Regions from separate parts of the Homo sapiens genome. Here region 2 is linked to region 1. Evidence: promoter capture Hi-C in 16 types of primary human blood cells and fetal thymus (Javierre and others, 2016). All regions are on one chromosome and are shown on one strand. The core of a region is centred on a gene start or on the middle of the fragment in contact, and the rest is flanking DNA. Distances in the headings are between cores, read along the strand shown.

Region 1 (6,872 bases), core at 147-2,646:
TGCATACGTGTTTACGGAGAACTCTAAAATAGTGATCAGGCTGTCCACCTGACCCAAGAACCAATCTTAGCATCCCTAAAAGTGAGACAGCTGGGGATAGCCTGCAATAAGAAACAGAAAGCACCACTTAGTAGAAGCATTCTTGCCGACAAAACTTTGAATGAGAATCTGACCAAGCCTCCAAATGAACATTCATTTTACAGGACATGCAGGTGATACAAACGTTAAGTGACACCACAACGAAGCTATCAGACAAATTCAGAGTGTGGGGGCACTGGACAAGACAATCAGTCCTGTCTCTTAGGAGGGGTAAGAGGAGGTTGCTCTAAATGAAGTGACACGTCTAAATGTAACCTGTGGACCCTGTTAGGATTCTCATTCACGCAGACCACTGTAAAATGTCATGTTTGAAAAAACTAGGTAAACGTGAGTGAGCATGGACTACAAAATGATACTGGAAAATTAGTATTAGTGTTGTTAGGGGTGATAATAGCATATGTAAGAAAATCCCTAAAACGTTTGAGATGTATTCTGAAAAATGTAGAGGTGAAAGGCCATGATGACTGGAATTCGCTTAGGAGTGGCGGGAGAGAAAATAAACGTGGCAAAATCTTCCTGTTGAATTTACCCGGTTGTGTAGGGGTCAGGGCTCACTTGACTATTTTCTCCCACTTTTTTGTGTTTGGAAACAATTTTTTTAAAGCGTGTTCATCGGCTACTGACACATCATGCTAATTGAAGTGTTGGGTGCAGGTTTAAAAAGTTTCGAGGGAATTGGTGTGTCCGTGAACAATCCACGACAAACGTGGTGGGGCCCGCGGGAGCGCTGCGGCCCAAGACAGTGTGACAAGCGGGAAGATCACGAGTCCGCAAGACACCAAGCCTCCAGAAATGCTCCAGAAACGCTCCAGAAAGCCTTTAAAGAACGGATTTGAACCCAGCCCTCCCACAGCGGCTTCACCCTGGACTCCACGAAACGCCAGCAGATCCACGCGAGAACCACACACACCTGGGGCTGGCGCCGCTGGACGCCGCGGCTTCACGGAGACCCAGGGCCCAAGCAGAGCCAAGGAGCGGCGGCAACCGCGGGGGCCACTCGGAAGACCGCGGAGCCCCGGCCTTAGGCGCCGTCGCGGCTGCCAGGCCCGCGCACCTTCCAGCTGCGGTGAGCGCGCTGCCCTTATCCCGGTGCCTCACCTCTTCCGCGCCAGCTGCAGACGCACCTCCCTGTCCTCGGGCGTCTCCCTCCGCCCCTCCTCCTCCTCCTCTTCGTCCTCAGTCCCAGCTCGGCACGGCGCCTTCACCACCTCTCCGAAGAACGTGGCCGCCATAGCCGCCCCGTGACCGGCTGGACACAACTGCAGCGCCGCGGGACCGCACGCCGGCTTGCGCGAGACCACGCTCCCTCACCGCGCGGGCAATAAGTCCCGCCCCGCACAGGCCACGCCCTCCGCGCACAGCCCAAGCTCGCGGCCACACCCCCACCGCGCGGGCGCTACGTCCCGCCCCGCACAGGGCTCGCTCCCAGGCACACCCTGAGCTCGCGGCCACGCCCTCTACACCGCCCGCCCGCGCTGTCATGCCCTGGGCCAGCAGTCCCCGCAGCTTTTTTGTTTTTAAATTACAGATTGGGGGAGGGGGTCTCGCTATGTTGCCCAGACTGGTCTCGAACTCCAGGACTCTAGCGATCGTCCTCCTTAGACCTCCCAAAGTGCTTGGATTACAGGCCTCAGCCACCGCGTCCGGCCCCCAAAGGCTTTCATTCGCAGCTTGAGCCCTGCGGGCGCCAGGAGGTGGGAGGACTGCGGGCTAGAGGGGCAGGGGGCGAGAGGAGGGCGGGGCCTCCGTTCGTGGCGGTAGCGGAACCAGGGGTGCAGGGGCGGAGCCAGCGCCGCTGGCCGTGGCGTCCGGGAGCTGTGGGGCCGTCCCCTCATCGTCCGTTTCCATTTTCCTTCTGCGTTAGGAGAGACTGGGGTAGCATTAGTGTACTGAGCACCCGCTCCAAATTTCGACTGCCCAGGTAGGTGGCGGCGCGGTGGTACTGAGGGCCCCCGTAGCCAGGCGCGCCCTCAGACAGCGGGCACGGGCGGACGCAAGGGCAGCAAGAAATACAGCGCTTCGTGGTGGTATAAAAACGAGACCTTTACTCTGGCAATAGGAATTCACATTTCAAAAGCTGATGATTGTCAAGGCGATTTAAAAAACATTTTTATGAGTGTAAAAAATAGTGTTTTAAAGTTGGCCATTTTCTAATACAAAATGTTTCTTTTTAAATAGCCTTTAATAAGCAGAATGTGTGATTGTTCTTTAATTGGTTCTCTTTAAAATGTGCTGGAAGACAAAGTTCGAGGAGCACTGTTTCAAGCAAGAGAAAAAGGGGACATAATTTAAATGAAAATGAAAATATGCAGTAATGCAATGAAAAAACCGTTTCCTAGATTTAGTTGTACCGAAATACATGACATCGCCTGCATTTTGTGACTTTGTCAGTAGTCACGAAGGTAAGTACTACTTTGGGGTCAGAGAGAGCCTGTTGAGATAAAATCTCAAAGCTGTTAGAAACATTTTAAGATGTGGAAAGATAATCAACAAAATCATTTACATAAAATTAGTACTTAGCAGATGTACACATCTGCAAAAATAAAGTGAGTTTGGAAGCAAAATTTGAACATTTAGCAATAAAATTAAGACGAAATTGCTAGCCAGTAAGAGCTTAGGAAACTGGATATCCTTAGTGAGATAGAATAAACAAGATCACCACAATGATGTTTTAAAACATTAGGACTCCTGGGTTAACTGGTCTATTATGATGATGGAACTGCAGAATAAAAAGGTTGTTTGGGCACCACTTGTCTTAGTCCTTTTGTTAATTTGTCATTTTTACCAGTAAGATCTTCAATTTGATTTCACAGTTCCATGATGAAGAAATATTTTCTGCAAAGCAAATTACTGTAAATAGGGTAATAGTAATACATTTGGCCATGATTTAAATTCTGCACACATTTCAGAGAGAACAATTTTACAATGTTAAGTTTTAAGCAAATGCTTATTTCATGCAGTTACAATAAGTTTAGGCCAAGCACTTTTTAAAAAGGCAAATATGTTCGAATTAAATACTTAGCCAAAAAAGGATTTCATTATGCAAGACTGATAATACAATCTCAAATACTGACAGAAATTAACCCCACCACAGCAAATTATAAATTCAAAGCTTAAATTCTTTCATTACACTGAAATTGCTAAAAAAAAAAAAAAAAAAAAAAAAAAACTTTGCATAAAATAGTCTTCACCGAGTTAAGTATTTCATTTTATAGTTACTTGTTGAGGACATAATATACTCAATAAATATTATAAATTAAGTGTAAAATTTGAACTGGAAAGAAGTTTAAGCATTTCATTAGAGCTCAAAAATCAAACCCCATGCACCTAAAAGTAATAGCAGTTTATTAGGAATTCTTCCCTTTCTCACCTGTGTATCAACATATTGGGGATCAGTAATTTAGATGAAAGTATACTACAAAAGGAGCAAAGGACACAGACTTAGTAGGTTAGAATATTCTGGCTTATGCTAAAAAACAAAAAGCCTTTTTTTTAAAACAGACATGCAACCACAAATTTCTCAAGTATTTTAGACACTTGGTTCATCTGTATAACAAAAAAAAAAAAATGCATTTGACTTAAAAAAGAAATAGAAAACCCTAGGTTTCTGTAGTTTAGTTTTTCAGATTTACACATGCAAATCATATATTCAGATATTTTTAAATGGGAAAACAACTTACTTTCAACAACTTAATTTTTCCAGTAACACGTTACTATGTTAAAAAGATGCGACAGTATATTCATTTAATCTGGCAATTTTAATTTCAACAAATACATATTAACAACAAATTAAATCCTATTGTAAATACACTTCTTTGTTATACCACGACCAAATTTTCTAATCCTAGTACAGGCCACAATGAAATAGGCCAAACATGCTACCATTAAAGTTTGTTGGGATGAGATTGTAGTAAGTTTACTCAAAGTATTCAAGTTCTAATTTTTAAGGTGCTGTAGAGAAACATAAAAGATTTCACTGTATCTAAAAATATGACTGTTTTGATCTTAAGCTATACATTTTATTTTTATCTAACTGATTAAGACCTGCCTCTTAATGAGGCACATTTTTGGCATTTCTGTAAATGCTGCTACATACAAGTAAAAATAAGGAAAAGCCGTGATAGTAACATTCATAGCTTTCATAGAAAAATATATATTCCCTGAATTAGTCATATCAAGTGGTCATTCAGTATGAACTGCAATATTATAAACAAAATGACATCAATGGACTTTCTCTAATTGCCTATTTCCAACACTCTACTTCAGAACTCAATAATCAGTATCTCCAGCTGAAATTCCCAGGTCCTCCTAGTTTGTTTTTGACCTTTGGGGATGTGAATTGTAGGGAATGGATCTGGGTAGTTTTTGCTTCACTCAGAAGTCAAATAGGCCCATTAGCACTTCCTTTGGAAAAATGCCTGATTTTTTTTCCTCATGACACCATAGTTGTCGTGGTCTGAATTTTTACACTGTAATGGAGAACCCTGAAAATTAGCATCAGGTTAAGATTTTGAAATTTGTTCACTTCAAGTTCTTCCTAGCCTGTACACTTCCCATTATATTCTTCCTCTAAGGAATCATGTCTTCAAGGCCTTGCATTCTGGAAAGGAATAGTAGTCTTATAGCAGGCCATTTGTCTTTTCTTTCCACCTCTCCACCTACAGACTCTGCAATTTATTTCCTCCTCAGAATTCCCCAGAGCACATGTCTGTACAAGAGCTGACTGGGAGGAACCCACTGGATTATGGCTTTTAGAAAATTCCTCCAAAGATGCCAATAAGGGAGTAATTTTAGAGCTGGGAGCAGAATGTAACTGCCAGTTTACTTGTGTACCAATTGTTTTCAGATGCCACTTCTACATTCTCATAGTCACTATTGTGCATTTTCTTTCCAGGATCTGAACCCCCTTAAAAAAAGCATTTTTCTATTAATATCTTCTAGCTCTTTTTCACTTTCAGAATTTATGGTTGTATCATCCTCTTTATAAACATTCAGTAATTTTTTCTTAGCCGCAGCAGAAGCATTTCGATGGGGCAGTTTTCTGCTACTCTTCCTAATCCAGACATTTTCTGGTCCTGAGATCGTTTCTTTTAGATTACTCATTATCTTTATTTTATTTGCAGCAACAGTAGCACATCTGCGGGGAACTTTCTCAGGTACCATTTTTGCTTTCAGAGTTTCACTAGGCATCTGCACTGCATCCTTCTGATTATGCATACATGTTCTCACTTTTGTATTGGGTTCTCTGTCTCTAGGAACAAATTCTGAAAAATGAGTGAAAGTTCATGTAAATGCAAAAATCTTGTAACACAAGATTTTACTACTGCTAACATTCCTCAACAACACTCATTCGGAAACAATAAATTTAAAAGTCATATTGCTAAATGATAAATTTTAAAATGTGATACTAAGGGCTTCTTCACATTGATATAACCTTACATTTGCTTATCTACAACTATAAGGATGTCACTTAAAACAGTAGCAGACTTGTAAGAATGGGGTGAAAAGTTCCTTCAGCATCGGCATCATAAAGCTGCTAATCTAAAAACATATATATGAGCATTTTACATAATTTGAATTACTAAATCTTAACTTCATTGTTCCAGTATTTTCTGACCTAGGTATGTGACACACGAGATTCAGATTAAAATTCTAAAAAATAACACAGAGTTGCTTTAAGGAACCAAAAAGTGCAGAGTGCTATGAGAACACAGACTGGAAACCTAACCTAGCCTAAGGGATCAAGGAAGGCTTCCTTTAAGGAAGCTTTTAGACGAGAGGTGAAAATTGTGAAGGGATTTGCCAGACAAAAAGCACTTTGGAGAGTTAACTACTTCATGCAGACTAAGGCAGTTTTTAGAGGGGGCTTGAAATCACACTGGAGCTCTACACAGCCACATGATGCCAGAGCTACTACTCCGTGCTGACCAAACTTAGGAGGGCTCAGATATGTTTGTTACCAGTGTCTCAAAGCCAAATTTTCAAATTTCACAAACAAGTCTAATTAGTACTCTTCTAGAACAGAAGTGATATTCCTTTTACGTATCTGAAGTTCACGGGCCCTTGAATTTTAGGTCTTTCTTGCAGCCATGAACAGTCAAACTATCTAAAACTGCCTTCATGGTACACACCAATCTTGATGGCAGTTTGTTTTGTAGGACCCTGCCTGAAGTTTCCAGACATTTAGCATTCAAAAGGTAAGGCTGTAGATCACTGAAATAACCAGTTGATATCCTCCACCCACACTAGACATCTGGAGGACTCCACCACATTCTTTTTACTACTAAGTACTAGAAAATGAGAGCTCTTTTAGTCAGATACTATCAAGTAACACTATTATTCTGTAGCAATGAAACCACCAATGCCAACCTTCTGAACTTTTTCTTCTGTGAAGATGTTTGCCCTTCTGTCACAAAGCTGACTGAAGGGCAGATGAGTACAGGTAAAAACTGCTTCTGTGGACTGACATGTTCATACAGCTAGACTAATGAGGCAGGCCTCTGCCCTCACAGTGCAAGCACTTCAGATTTTTCCCTAAGTCTATGAAACTGATTTCACACTTCTCTAAGATCAGTTGAGCGTTCTCCCCAGAATAGGTTAGGAAATACTTTATTCAAAGCAACCCCACCACATACACATCAGTTCCTTTTGCCAACTAACTTATGTGATTCACATGTTTTTCCAGTGAAATTCTAAGGGCACTATGTTTTGTTCAGTGTTCAGTCTCCAGGCATTGTAAATGGCATTTTACCAGAGTAAGACACTCATCACGG
Region 2 (6,872 bases), core at 3,432-5,931, 2.1 Mb before region 1:
CCTGGTACACAGTGAGTACTCAACAAATATTTGTGTCTTAGACATGAATCTGATGGCACAAGTACTAACTGTACCCTTCCCAAAAACTAAGGGTTTGAATTCTGGGCCCCTCAGGACAAACAGGAGGAAGGACATCATTGCCCTTTGCAAATTACAATATAAATGCCTCTCTGGAGGAACTTCTTGATTATACTGACATTGATTTTTTTTTTTAAGTCTGCTATATGGGAATGCAATATTGTATTTATTCTATTCATTAACAATACTTGAACATTTACAATATTCATTGAACATAATCTAAGAGAAGGTCAACTTACATTTTTTACTTCTCTATTAATAAGAGAGATGGTCAAATTAATTTATGGTCAAAATTATAATGGCAAAAACTTATAAATAAATACGTGCTTGGTGTTACTATGGTTACACACAGTTCAGTTTTTGGTGTAAAGTTCTTTGGCTGCAAGAAAGAACATTTGGTTTACTTCACTAATAGAAATATCTCTTAAGGCTGGAATGGCCTCCTCTTGGTATTTCTTCTGCTGTTGATTTTTTGCATAGTTATCTGTAAGAAAAGACCAAAAAGCTCTGTTTACCTAAGCAATTTCTTCTACAGTCTCTGTGTCTGATGGAGACCCACCACATAGTTTACTAGGCTGACGTTTGGATAGTGACAAACATCATGTTTAACATAATTAGATGATTACTTAAATCCTCTCTTTAGAAGAAATGTCCCAATTAAAATAAAAACATCCCTGTCTCTACTAAAAACACAAACACACAAAATTAGCCTGGTGAGGTGGCGGGCGCCTGTAGTCCCACCTACTCGGGAGGCTGAGGCAGGAGAACAGCGTGAACCCAGGGGGCGGAGCCTGCAGTGAGCCGAGATTGCGCCATTGCACTCCAGCCTGGGTGACAGAGCGAGACTCCATCTCAAAAATAAAAAATAAAAAATAAATAAATAAATAAATAAAAATAAAAAAATAAAAACATCAGTAAAGTACTTTTTTCATCTCTAACTTGGAAAGAAATCAATATTTTAATCAACCATACAATGATGATTAAAGTCTCATTTGCACATTTCTCACGGGAACAGAATTATATCCAGGCCTTGAAAATGTATTTAAATCAACATGGCAAAACTATTAAATCATTTGGTATAAATATTCATGCAATCTTAACAATTTCCCCTCTTTGCACAAATTACCTATTTGCTGCCAATTCCAATCAAGAATGCATGGAATGCAGTGTATTAGAAAGACACTTAAAAATAATAGAATTGATTTTCAAAATACATTGTAGAGGCTAATATATAAAGGTTTTGAAAAGTTGAAAAATCATACCAGGGAACTTAAAAAATACTTTACTTTCTAGAATTTAAGCAAGCTCAGGAGTCTGATTTATTTTCATCTTTAGACTTGAAAGAACTTTAAAAAAATAAAACCAGACGAACGTGTTGTGGCTCTTTTATCCACTTAATTGGAATAAGGAGTACACAATGATCCTGAGGAGGATACACACCCCCAAAGTCCTTTTTCTGAACAAGGTCTGCATGTACTATTTACTATCCCTTGATCAACGGTGTCTGTTCAGGATAAGCTTCTCTCAGGCAAAGTTAATGGGAACATATTATAGACACATATAGCATATACTTGTGGTTTTTATGGGAACATACACCTGCTAACCAGTGCTATAATTAATTATAATTTATTTCCTCCATGAATATAGCTAGTGTGTATTCATCAGAACTTAATTCCTTCATGCAAATATTTCCTTTTATATAAGTTTGTATTTATTTCTCTTAGTAGCTTCTTTTTACTGTCCGTGTGTGTGTGTGTGTGTGTGTGTGTGTGTGTGTGTGTGTGTGTTTTCTTTTAGGATGGAGTTTCACTCTTGTCACCCAAGCTGGAGTACAGTGGTGGGATCTTGGCTCACTGCAACCTCTGCCTCCTGGGTTCAAGTGATTCTCCTGCCTCAGCCTCCCAAGTAGCTGGGATTACAGACGCGCACCACCAACATGGGTTTTGCAGCCTGTTCTTTGTTGCTTTTCTGGGTAAAAGTGCTAATACTCCACTCTTTCATTGCCCCAGCACTTTCCTTTTATATAAAGTTACCTGTGATTGTATGGATGGAGTCGAGTGGAGAGGTACTCATCATGTTAATCCCAAACAAGAGCACGTAGCCAATTACTATAGCAATAAGGAGGTAGACAGGTAATGCAACTGCCCAATATCTGCCAAAGAGAATATTAAAGTACATAATAGACACTTTAAAAAAGTTGTAATTCTCAAGAGTCGGTCACAAAGCCAACATGTTTTTTAAATTTAAATTTTATAAAGTAATATGTGTACATAAGAGACAAATAGTTCCACAAGGCTTACAGTGAAAAACTGCAGTCCTCTATCCCACCATCCCAACCCTGGGGTCTCACTCTCCAAAAAGAAATGCTTTGAGCACTTGAGCTGTCTTCTGGTACTTACCTCCTCATTGCTACAAAACATGCTCATATTACTATTTCCTCATTTTTTTCCATTACAGACATTTTCTCTAGGCTTCCTAATATGGAGATAAGGAATTAACCTCCTCCTATCCTCTTCTATACTTACATTGCAATTTCTCATTATAGCAGCAGGTTTTAGAAATAATTGTACCTACATAAACAATTTTGCAACTGAGGATCTTAGTACATTATTATTATATATTTTCTTGTACAACTTTTTTTTTTCTGGAATAATTACATCTTTTTGTCTGTTCACTTGGTTTCCCAGGAATCCACCAATACCAGAGCCTCAAATTCTCTGATAGGACTCTATTATGCCTCTCAGTATCATTATGTACATGGAGTGCTATTTTTCATTGAGTGTTTTTTTTTTCTTTTTGAGAAAGCATTTCCCTCTGTCACCCAGGCTGGAGTGCAACGGCATGATCACAGATCACTAGCCTCAATCTGCTGAGCTCACTTCAGCCCTGCAAGTAGCTGGGACTATAGGCACACACCACCACACCTGGCTAATTTTTAATTTTTTTGTAGAAATGGGGTCTTGAGATGTTGGCCAGATGTTTTTTTTTTTTTAAATGATTTGTTCTCTATTATTTTCTCTTTCTGGAACTTCTAATAGTTTGAATTTTTAACGATTATACTTTCTTATATTTTCATTTTTTTTTGTTCTAACTTCTAGAGATTACCTTTGTTTTATTTTCCAGTCTTTCAATTAAAATTTTAATTTTGGTTATCATGTTTACAATTTCCAAATACAGTAATTTCCTGTTTGCATAGCATTCTGTTCTTGTTTCATAGTTATAATTGTTTCTTACCTCTGAGAATTTTATGTTATTTAAATTTTTTTTTCTGTTTCCTGCATTATCTCTATTTCCTTCAAATTCCCTTTAATTTTCTGCTTTTTCATTTCATGCTAGAGGCTTTCTTTTAATGTCTGGTAACTTAGAGTAGTCCATTCATATTTAAAAATGAAGTGCTAACAAGTGAGTTGGAAGCACTATGTGTATGTGGGCAGGGATGGTCAACTGGTGAGCCTCACTCTGAGAGACTTGGCCACTTCACTGGGGTCCTCTAAATGTCAGAAATTATAGATCCTTTCTCTCGGGCTGGTCAGCTTCCTCAGGAAAGAACTATCTATCTTTTTCTGTGAGCAGTAGGGTGATATAAGCCTCGAAGCCCCAAGAGGGAAGATGGAGCAGGAGGTAAATCTTCTCATTAAGCCATGTAGATTTTCACTTACTTCCCTGTTTTCAGTAAGATGCCGCATTCCCACACTCAGACTTAGTGGCCCCCATGCTAGAGACTCTTACTTAACCTTGCCAGAGAGTAAAACTCCTGTTTTCTGCAGGGGAGGGCAGGGCAGGCCTCCCAGCTTTGAGGGCTGAGGGAGATTTGAAGGCTGAAGACTTCATATGGTCTTTAAACATGTTTTCAGTTCAACCCAGAATTAAAGAGCTACCTGGTACCCCAATGTCTGAGCTATTCTGGAGTTCTAAGGCACAAATATTCTTGCTGGCTTCCCTACTTCAGCAACGTGAAAATCACAGAAACAAAGGCAGTTACCTCTCACCTATCACAATCCACTTTCCAAAATGTGGTTGATATCTCTTTTCTGCTATACTATTGTTTCTGTGGTTTGTATCTTCAGTTTTTTTTTTTTTTCCTGTAGGGTCATTTTAACAAGATTTTTGGAGGAAATGGATGGAGATAAACATGTGTGTTCATGCTACCATCTTTAATTAGAGATGTATCAATAGCGATCTTTAAAAAGCTTTCAATTTCTATATGGCTATTCATGAATTTTAAGAGAACAAATATTTAAGATTTGGGTAGGTTTAAGAAATGATATGACTCCTCAAAACAGCATTAATTATATCCTCATTTAAGAAATATATTAAACTTACTTTTGAGGCCAATAGGTTAAACCTAAAGAGTTTAGCCAAGATTCAGGAATAAAGGCCCACACGAGGTAAAGTACTGTAGAAAAGAAAAAGAAAAAAAAGAGGAAGAGAAGTCAGTAAGACATACATCTAATCTATCAATCTATTAAGATTCAGATAAAACAGAAAAGCTCTTTTGAAGTGTCCCTGATTAACTCAGAAATGATTTTTTCCTCCTTTCAGTTCTTCTAGCTCGTTTGCACAATTCTTATAATACTTATAATTACTGTATTAGTCTTTTTTTTTAATATCTTAACTCACATTATATTTTAAGCAATTCAAGGATACAAATCATGGCTTAGCAATTGTTGTAATCCTTATTACCTAGCAGTTTGCTTTAGGTACAGTAAGTGTTCAATACTTCATCCCCACAAGGTTGAAGTAATTATAGACATTTAATTGCTCAAAGGGAAATTTACCTACCCTAGTTCTCATCCACCACATACTGAGCTTCTGCCCTATCTCCCAGAGTACAATGTTATTTCCCTCAATCCGAAATCTCGGCACTCTTTACTGTTATCCCACGATAACAACAATGGCTAAGTTCTGAGCACTCACTGTGGGTTAAGCACAGTTCCAAGCATTCTGTATGCATTAAGATAATCCTCCAAGACAATCCTCCAAGGCAAGTATGCAATTTTAAATGATGAGGAAATGGAAGCTTAGAAAGGATACATCACCTACCCAAGGTAAGCGGCAAAGATAAATTTTAACTACCTACTACATCAGTGATGATGCATTCTTTTCTTAACAAATATGTATTACAGAATTCTGTATGTCAGGTGTGTGAGACACAATATTGAATCCAAAAGAGATGGCTTCTGCCCTCCCTAAACTTAAAATCTAGTGGTGAATAGAGAAAATTGGTATTTTCACTACATTGTTACAAGTGCTCACGAATGAGTAATAAAAGATGACATAGAAGCACATTAGAAGGCCCTCCTTCCACTTCGTATCCTCCTTCCCTTTGCTTAATTTCTCCCCATAGTACGTTATCACCTGATACTATATACGTTTTTCTTATTTAACTTGCCCATTGACTATCTCCCCCCGGCATGAGAATGAAGACTCAAAGCAGGGCATTTTTGGCTGTTTTGGTCCTTCCTGGCCTGTAACAGTGCCTGGCACATGGTAAGCACCAATAAATACTTGAATTACTTTTTGGTTGTGGGTATGATGGAATTTAATTTTGTTTTGAGACAGTTTCGCTCGTTGCCCAGGCTGGAGTGCAAAAGTGCAATCTCAGCTCACGGCAACCTCCGCCTCCCGGGTTCAAGCGATTCTCCTGCCTCAGCCTCCCGAGTAGCTGGAGTTACAGGCATGCGCCACCATCCCGGCTAATTTTGTATTTTTAGTAGAGACAGGGTTTTTCCATGTTGGTCTGGCTGGTCTCAAACTCCCGACCTCAGATGATCTGCCTGCCTCGGCCACCCAAAGTGCCGGGATTACAGGCGTGAGCCACCAGGCCGGCCAGAATTTAAGCCTTAAAGTGATTGCTTTTATTTATTCATATAGCTTCTAATCCTTGACATACTCTTTGAACAAGGATTTACAAAAGTGCTAACAATAACATCAGTAGCTAACACTTATTAAGTCCCTAACTGTTCCTAGGCATTATTTTACGTGCTTTACATAAATTACCCCCGTTAATCCTCACAACAGTCAGAAGAGGCAGCAGAGTGAAGTCAGCCAGTGTATTTGGGTTCAAATTTAGAAGGCTTTTATTTAGTAGCTTTGCAATCTTGAGCAAGTTACTGAAACCACAGGATGCTCATCTTTAAAGGACAGTAATAACAGAACCTACCCCATAGAACTGTTTCATGCGTCATAAGCATTTAATAACCATCATTATCACTACCCTTTTACAGATAAGGAACCTGAGGCTCAAAAAATTTGCTGAGGGTCCCAGCTCACATGGCTAATCTGTGGAGGAGTCAGAATTCGAACTCAGTTGTAACTTCTTCACTTCACTTCAGTTTTAATAGCCTGGCCATTACATTCATCTGCAAGCTGTGCTGATGGTGCAGGCTGATATATTTTAGTTAGGGTTCAGAAGTACTACCACTCCTCCACTTTCCTGGTTTCCAAACAGTTGCAGAACGTTGGATCACGGGCACTCAATTTTCTCCCTTTTGTGTGCCTCAAAATTCTCAAATCATTTTGGGGAGAGACTTGGGACTTGCTGTGTGAGTGGGCATATTAGTGTCTTAGTGAGCATCAGTCTCCTTATCTGTAAAATGGAATGTTATGGGGTTAAATTAAGGGAGATCCAGGACGCAAACGACACACCTTTCAACCCGACTTCTCTGGCCTACTTCTCCTGTTCCCCAGATCCCGCAGGGCACACTGGTGACATCACAAGCTCCTCGGGTCCAAACCCTCTCACGCCCTCATTCAAGGCCTTTCCACTTCTTCCCTCCCTCTTACTCTTTCCT

Evidence for each region. Contacts are between HindIII fragments. The CHiCAGO score rates a contact against its expected background, and 5 or more counts as called.
Region 2: a fragment that was not itself captured here is called in contact with the fragment with the promoter of PSMG1 in region 1 in 1 of 17 cell types (total B cells); the score reaches 6.7 in total B cells.

The regions. Positions count from the first base shown.
Region 1 is chr21:39,182,055-39,188,926 of GRCh38, forward strand. It overlaps PSMG1 (proteasome assembly chaperone 1), which reads right to left and starts at 1,397. Exons shown (of 7, transcript NM_003720.4): 1 at 1,198-1,397. The coding sequence starts at 1,331. It overlaps BRWD1 (bromodomain and WD repeat domain containing 1), which reads right to left. Exons shown (of 41, transcript NM_033656.4): 41 at 3,428-6,872. RefSeq lists silencers at 1,073-1,152, 1,353-1,572 and an enhancer at 6,801-6,850. The HindIII fragment of the contact is 4,125 bases long and covers 1-3,209 here.
Region 2 is chr21:37,065,151-37,072,022 of GRCh38, forward strand. It overlaps PIGP (phosphatidylinositol glycan anchor biosynthesis class P), which reads right to left. Exons shown (of 5, transcript NM_153682.3): 3 at 4,402-4,474; 4 at 2,112-2,230; 5 at 224-562. The coding sequence ends at 432. Among named protein-coding and RNA genes, the nearest start is that of PIGP, 4.5 kb to the right of the region's middle. The HindIII fragment of the contact is 830 bases long and covers 4,267-5,096 here.